Linked DNA regions of Homo sapiens: region 1 is linked to region 2. The links are contacts of gene promoters, found by promoter capture Hi-C in human tissues and cell types (Jung and others, 2019). All regions are on one chromosome and are shown on one strand. The core of a region is centred on a gene start or on the middle of the fragment in contact, and the rest is flanking DNA. Distances in the headings are between cores, read along the strand shown. Region 1 overlaps BTNL3 (butyrophilin like 3). Region 2 holds the start of BTNL9 (butyrophilin like 9).

Evidence for each region. Contacts are between HindIII fragments. The study calls those that stand out against the background at their distance.
Region 1: a fragment that was not itself captured here is called in contact with the fragment with the promoter of BTNL9 in region 2 in 5 of the 25 tissues and cell types used here (bladder, lymphoblastoid cells, mesenchymal stem cells and 2 more).

What each region holds. Positions count from the first base shown.
Region 1 is chr5:180,998,962-181,002,933 of GRCh38, forward strand. BTNL3 (butyrophilin like 3) reads left to right here. Exons shown (of 8, transcript NM_197975.3): 4 at 3,711-3,824. Among named protein-coding and RNA genes, the nearest start is that of BTNL3, 12 kb to the left of the region's middle. The HindIII fragment of the contact is 3,918 bases long and covers 666-3,972 here.
Region 2 is chr5:181,038,692-181,042,466 of GRCh38, forward strand. BTNL9 (butyrophilin like 9) reads left to right here and starts at 1,575. Exons shown (of 11, transcript NM_152547.5): 1 at 1,575-1,741. The HindIII fragment of the contact is 13,573 bases long and covers 1-3,775 here.

The sequences.
Region 1 (3,972 bases), core at 1,375-3,874, 39 kb before region 2:
ACTAAAAATACAAAAATTAGCCGGGTGTGGTGGCGGGTGCCTGTAATCCCAGCTACCTGGGAAGCTGAGGCAGGAGAATTGCTTGAACCCGGGAGGCGGAGGTTGCGGTGAGCCGAGATCATGCCACTGCACTCCAGCCTGGGCGATAGAGCAAGACTCCATCTCAAAAATATATATATATATATCCTTTAATGCTTAAATGTTCTTATTAGCATGAAATAGCTGAATATTGATATTAGGCATCAATATATATTTCAGAAAACAGCAAAAGAAAGTGGAAGAAATCCTAAAGATATAGAAATATGGAAATATAAAGACAAATAGTGCACATTAATACATCTAAAGTTAGACGGTTCGAAGTGTTATTAAAATAGATAAACTGGCAACATCAGTTAAGAATAAAAGAGAAACAGCACAATTAAACAAGGCAGGAAATAACAAGAAGGCACAACTAAAGATTTAGTAGAGATTTGTAAGATAAACTGCTTTGAATAACTTTTTCCTTTTCTATTGAATATGATGAAGTGAAAGTTTTCATAGAAAAATGTAAAATACAGGACAGGCGCAGTGGCTCATGCCTGTAGTCCCAGCAGTGTGGAAGGCTGAGGCGGGCAGATCGCTTGAGGTCAGGAGTTTGAGACCAGCCTGCCCAACATGGCGAAACCCCATCTCTACTAAAAATACAAAAATTAGCTGGGCGTGGTGGTGTGTGTCTGTAATCCCAGCTACTCTGGAGGCTGAGGCTGGAGAATCACTTAAATCCAGGAGACAGAGATTGCAGTGAGCTGAGATCGCCCCACTGTACTCCAGCCTGGGGGACAGAGTGAGACTTTGTCTCAAAAATTTTTAAAAAAGAAGAAAAACGTAAAATACAAAATCCGAAGGAAAGATAGACTACCTGACTAATTTGTAACCATGAAAGAGGTGGACTCAGCATTTAAAAGTCTTCCCACAAGGAAGACACAAGGCCCACATTGTTTTATATACAAAGTCTACCAAATATTCAAGAAAAGAGAAAATGTATCTTTCAGAAAGTCGGCCAGAGAGCAGAAAAATAGGAAATATTAAACTCATTTTATTGAGTCAACATAATTTTGGTATCATAAGAGAAATGGGCAATTCAAAAAAGGAAAAATTTTTACCAACATTACTCATAATTGAAAATGTAAAAATCTTACCAAAAATTTTGCAAGTAGAAAAGTCCACAAAAACATATATCATGACCAAACTTATCCTGGAAAAAAATGTTAGGTCAACATGGGAACATATATTAATGTAATTATAACATAATTCGTTAAAAGAGATAAACTATAATTTTCTTAGTAGATGTAAATAAAACAGATAACTTTCTACATCTATTCATCATGATTTCAACACTTGCAAATCTAGAAATAGAAGAAAATTTTTTTTATCAATCTAGAAATAGGAGAGACTCTGCTTAATCTGATAAAAAGATATCTAAAGATACTTGCAGCAAACATCATACAAAATAATAAGCCACCTAATTTTTTAAATACATACCGAAAACATTATACATAATGTGTCATTTAAAATCATAACATAGGCCGGGCGCGGTGGCTCACGCCTGTAATCCCAGCACTTTGGGAGGCCGAGGCAGGTGGATCATGAGGTCAGGAGATCGAGACCATCCTGGCTAACAAGGTGAAACCCCGTCTCTACTAAAAATACAAAAAATTAGCCGGGCGCGGTGGCGGGCGCCTGTAGTCCCAGCTACTCGGGAGGCTGAGGCAGGAGAATGGCGTGAACCCGGGAAGCGGAGCTTGCAGTGAGCCGAGATTGCGCCACTGCAGTCCGCAGTCCGGCCTGGGCGACAGAGCGAGACTCCGTCTCAAAAAAAAATAAAATAAAATAAAAAAATAAAATAAAATAAAATAAAATCATAACATAAGGAGATTGCATTAAACACTTCTGTTCCACATTATATTAGAGTACTGTTACTATTAGCAGCCACTTCAATAAGGGAAGAAAATGTAAAAGTTATAACTTTTAGAAAGAAAAAAATTAAATGGCCATTGTTCACAGTTTATATGATGATATAAACGGAAAATTTAGAAAAATTTACAGACAAATTCTTTCAACTCATAAAGGAATCCATCGTGTTCATGAAAAATGAGAGGAATAAACAAAATCTAATAAAATGTTTACAAAATCTTATTGAAGGGTATTATAAAACTGTATTAAAAGACACTAATGAAAACTAAAATAAGAGAACAAACATAACACCTTTCAGATAAGAAGATGCATGTTTTTAAAGATACCAGTTCTCCTAGAATTGCTGTACAGATTCAATACAATTCCATAGAAAAATCTCAGCACATTTTTTGGTTTGTTTGTTTTTTGAGATGAGCTGTCACTCTGTCACCCATGCTGGAGTATAGTGGTGCAATCATGGCTCATTGCAACCTCAATTTCCCATGCTCAAGCAATCCTCCCACCTCAGCCTCCCAAGTAGCTGGGACCACAGGTGTGCACCACCATGCCTGGCTAATTTTTTTTAATTTTAAATATTTTTATAGATGGGGGGGGGTCTCACTTTGTTGCCTAGACTGGTCTCGAACTCCTGTCCTTAAGAAATCCTCCCGGCCAGGCGCGGTGGCTCATGCCTGTAATCCCAGCACTTTGGGAGGCCGAGACGGGAGGATCACGAGGTTAGGAGATCGAGACCATCCTGGCTAACATGGTGAAACCCCATCTCTACTAAAAATACAAAAAATTAGCTAGGCGTGGTGGCGGGCGCCTGTAGTCCCAGCCACTCAGGAGGCTGAGGAAGGAGAATGGCGTGAACCCGGGAGGCAGAGGTTGCAGTGAGCCGAGATCGCGCCACTGCACTCCTCCCTGGGCAACAGAGCGAGACTCTGTCTCAACAAAACAAAACAAAACAAAACAAAACAAAGAAATCTAAAGGAGAAAAGAATAAACATTACCTTTAAAAAAAAAAAGAAATCCTCCCACTTTGGCCTCCCAAACTGCTGGGTTTATAGGCATGAGCCACTGCACCTGGCCCAGAGTTTTCTTAAAGCCTAACAAGTCAATTCCAAAGTTTATGTGGCAAAACAAATAGCCAAGAATTGCTAAGATACAGTGGAATAAGAGCAAGCTAAGAAGCTTAGTCTTATCTCAGAGACATATCCCAAAGCTTTGAAGATTAAGCCAATTAAAATTATTGGCACAGAGATAACCCTATGGATCAATGAGAGAGAACAAAGAGCCCAGAAACAAATCCAAGCTTGAACATGAGGTACACAGAGGTGACCTTGCATGTGTGGCAGTGTGTAAAGCAAGGTCCACTCAACAAACATTGCCAGCACAGTCAACACCTGCTTAGAAGAAGATGACATTGAACTTCTGCCTCATTAGACATAGACACACACACACACACACACACGTGTGTGTGTATATATATATATATATATATATATATGAAATCCAGATGGATCAAGACTTATAAAGAAATGCAAAGCTTTAACGCGCACACACACACACACGTGAATATATATATATATATATATATATATATATATATGAAATCCGGATGGATCAAGATGTTTATAGAAATGCAAAGCTTTAAATCTGTGGAAGAAATGAGAGAAAAATGTTTTCATCTTGGGGTACTGGGGGATTCCTTAAATGGGCGTAAAATTGTCTTACCTGCTTAGCTATCACTAAGGGTCTGTGGGACTGTTTTTCAGAGACGTTTTTCCAGCCCTCACCTTGGCGCCTGGCTTCTATTTTACTCGGGTTACTCTGTGGTGCCCTGTGTGGTGTTGTCATGGGGATGATAATTGTTTTCTTCAAATCCAAAGGTAAGTGAGAGAGAGAAGCATGGGCCCATACCTTCTTCATGGTTCCAGTGGAGCTGATATCAGGCTGCCCTCACACACCTCTGGGCTCTGCTCTTCCAGCCCTAGGCCTACAGGGGCCACCAGCTGAGGCACAGGGAACCCAGTCTTC
Region 2 (3,775 bases), core at 325-2,824:
GTCCTCCCGGGCTGCCCATGGCTTCCCTGATCCTACTGTTTATGCAGCATCCATCTTAAGTATACCCTGTCCTTGAGCCCTCCTCTGTCTCCCCAGGCCCGGGGAACTGCACCCACTGTTTGAGCTCACTGTTCAGCCCCTTTTGCTGTCCTAGGGACATCTGTTCACATTAATAAGCCTGGGTGCCCAGTCTCACCAGCCTGTCTGAGCACAGACAGTCACCTCCAGGTCCATGCCTGAAGCTTGCTGGCTCCCGTCTCCCACCCATGTAGCGCCCTGTCACCTGCAGAGGCCCCTCTACAAACACAGGCACTTCTGGGAGTCCCTGGGGTGTGCTACTGAGGCAGAAAATTTAAAAATACATATGCCTTCATTCACTCCAAGAAAAGTAACAGGCAAGGCAAGGGTTAAAAAGTAAAGGACAAGTTTTCCTCTGCCTATAGCAAGCCCACTGCAAGGACAGTTATAACAGTGTCCAGAAAGCCAAGGCCAAAGGAATGGGCTCCAGATACCCGCCGCCCCACTTCCAGAGCAAGGTTGAAGGAAAAAGAGAGAAAGACAAATTCTTTTACTGTTACTGTTTTCCCAGGCTTCTTAAGCATGATTGTGTTTTACAAATGTCTGTACTTAGCCAGTTCTTGTTTTTCTTTCAATGCAGCTACAAAGTCACCCGCTGTGCAAGGCCACAAGTTATGCTATGCTATAGATTATGTGACCTATCATGATTAGCTGCTTTTGTTTTATTTATTGTAAGTCCACTTACAAAAACCCCGCTCTGTCTTTGTTTAATGCTCAGCTTTTTGGATGTGAGTCCACTGAGCCGGTGTGTACCTAAAATAAACAATCCTCCTGTTCTTCACATCGGTCTCTCCGGTCCTCAGTTTCCCACAACACTGCATGTGCTTGAGCTGCTCGTGCCTCAGCTCTGGCCTGTTCCCTGGAGGGGACGTCAGTGTGGGCTGCAGCTGGGTGGCTGGTGCCTCAGTCCGCTAATGCCCAAGTTGCACCATGGCCTACAGTAAGATGGGGTGGGCTGGGCTGGGGTAGTGCTTGCTGCTTCTTTTCTGACCTCTTCTCCACTAGAGAAATCCCAATCCAGCACCCTCCTGCATTTCTAAGTTGCACGTGAACAGGTTTTGCAGGTTGCCTCACGACAATGCCCCCAGGATTTGTTCCTTACTGACCTTGTCCTGAGGAGAAGGTTATGGTGGGTTAAAAATTGGTCATCAGCCCCTTCCTCGTGGTTAGTTAGTGGAGACTGCAGTCTACTCTCTTTCACTGTTCGGGGACTGCTACCCTGCCTCCTTGGAGTCCGAGCTTCACTGGCACAAAGACCCTGAACCCAGCTGGAGCGTTTTCTCCTCACTTTGAGCCTCTGCAGCTGTCGCTCTCTACAAAGCTCTCAGATACCTTTCCCCTCCTTCTGTGACCCTGGAGAGATATTTTACATGGGAATTCAAGATTTTTCTCAGAGACAGGATGTGACGACTTCCTTGTTTTGTTCTATCCATCTTGGTTTCCATAGCCAAGGGCAGAGCAAACGGCATATATCTTAGGGTGGAAGATGGATAAATAATTCTGTCACACGTGCCCTGGCCTCTGGAGCTCAGCTGCCAGTCCACGTCTAGGGAATCTTAGCATCTGGGACCAAGACACTTTACAGCAATCATCACCCTTTGCAGAGGAGGTGAGCTCACCAGGACTCATCTGCCATTTCAGACCTTTTGCTGCTACCTGCCAGGTAAGTGGCTCATTCTCAACAGCTGCCTACACCTCCATCTTTCAGAAACGGCAATCAGAAAATGAAGGTGGGAGGCTTTGGGAAGGCGTACAATTAGTGGCACCATTTTATTATCCGAGCTTGGCCGCAGCATGGGATGTTTCGAGTGTGGCCAAGAGGAGATGTCCACGCCCGTTTAGGTGGGCCGCATCTCAGGAGGCAGGATCCTGATACATCCCATTGCCCCCACCAGACGAAAAAGATTTCAAGCCTCATTGCGGTTCCCTTCTTGGGGCAGTCCATCTTCCTTAGAGACTAAGAGGGTGGAAATCCTCTTGTGGACCTATCGAAATCAAACCAGCGCAGGCAGTGAGCACTAGCTGGGGTCTGCCGGGGGGAAGGGCATTGCAGGGGGTGTCGGGGAGGCCCGTGGGAGAGGGCCAAGGCCCCACTGACACCTGCGGACTTGCAGCTTGGGGAGTGGAGGACAGGAGACAGGCAAAATTCACCAGTTACACAGCTTACAGAAGTAGCAAAGCAAAGACTATACTTCAGGGATAATTTCTGTACTTTGTTACTAGAGAAGTTTTCCACTCTGGGACCCCACAGTCTCCGCAGACATATGCAGAGCAAAAAATACTTCCTGTGTTTGGGAGAGCAAGAGACATGGCATTTATTAATAACATGGATTTTCCTGCCAGGTTTCATAACGTGGTCATTTAAGTGTGAAATGTAGTCTTAAAATTATGTTAGAGAATCCCCAAGGTTTTGCTCTGCCCCCATGGAAACACTGGGATCGCTCAGGACGCCAACAGCTGCATAGCAGGCGAGGGACTCCTGTGGGAGGACGTGGCCTGTGGACACTGCCAGGTTCGGAGATGTCCTTGGGAGATTTACTATTTGTCAGGAAGATAGTGTTAAGTTCAGGCAAATAATTATATGTGTGGACAGAATCTGAAATTCACCAATAGAGTAAGTAAGAGTGAGAGATTGTGAATGTGTAATACAAATGGAAAAGCAGGTTTTATTTTGTTAAGTTATTCACCAGGGAACCAACTGAAGTTCCTTCTAATCCTCTTTTTCTCCATTCTTGCTTTGCTGAAAGTTGGAGAAAAGGACATGTGTAGAGAAAATGGGATGCTTCAGGGTGGCTCAGAGGACACCAATCCATAGTGATTCGCCTGAGTTTGTCAGGTGGAAGCAGTGATTTTTAAGAGTCACTGATTAAAAACAAACAGTCCTAAGTGTATTAGGGAGATGCCATTTATTTGTGAATCAAAAACTTTTCTCAGTCTCTTAAATTATGGTTTTCCTGTAATAAGAATGATTTATATTTTTAGTGAAAAGTTGTTTTCCTTTCAAATACAGACTTTTTAAAAAGACTTAGTTTGAGTAAGTACCTTTTCATTTGATGCTTTTCTTGTGCCTAACCTTAGGAAATCCAGAATAGTATTTGACAGAAATTATGTTTTCAACTTGCCTTTGACATCTGTCCCACTGCATTTTGCTTTAAAATTCTTTATTTAACAATAAATTATCTAAAAAAATAACAGTAGCAAAGCAAAAAGTACTCATCTTTAAAGACAGACTCGACGGAGGGACCGGAAATCAGAAAAACATCAGGGTTGTTTAGGAATTGCAGGTGCAGGAGGAGAGAACAGGAGTGGGGCGGGCTGGGGGCAATGAGAGAGCAAGAAGAAAAGAAAAATAAAAAGAGAAGGAGAAGAAAGAAATGGGCTTTTGCTGGGTGCAGGCAGTGACATTTCTCAGGACCCCTTATTTCTCCCTGTGCCTTCCGGAGGGAGCAGCCCAAGGCTCCTGGGAGGACAAGCAGCACGTGCCCGCCGGCAGAGCTCAGCTCCAGCTGGAGGACCCCTTTGTGGTCCTTGCGCACACTGGGTTTTCCTTCTTCCCCAAATATCCGACGCGTCCAGTCCCTTACTCCTTCCCCAGGCAAAACCTCCTCACCAGGAACAACCTGAAATCAATTTACACTGTAATCAAAATAGCAGAGGGTGGAAAGTGTTTCCTTCGAGGAGGGGACTTACGCTTCAA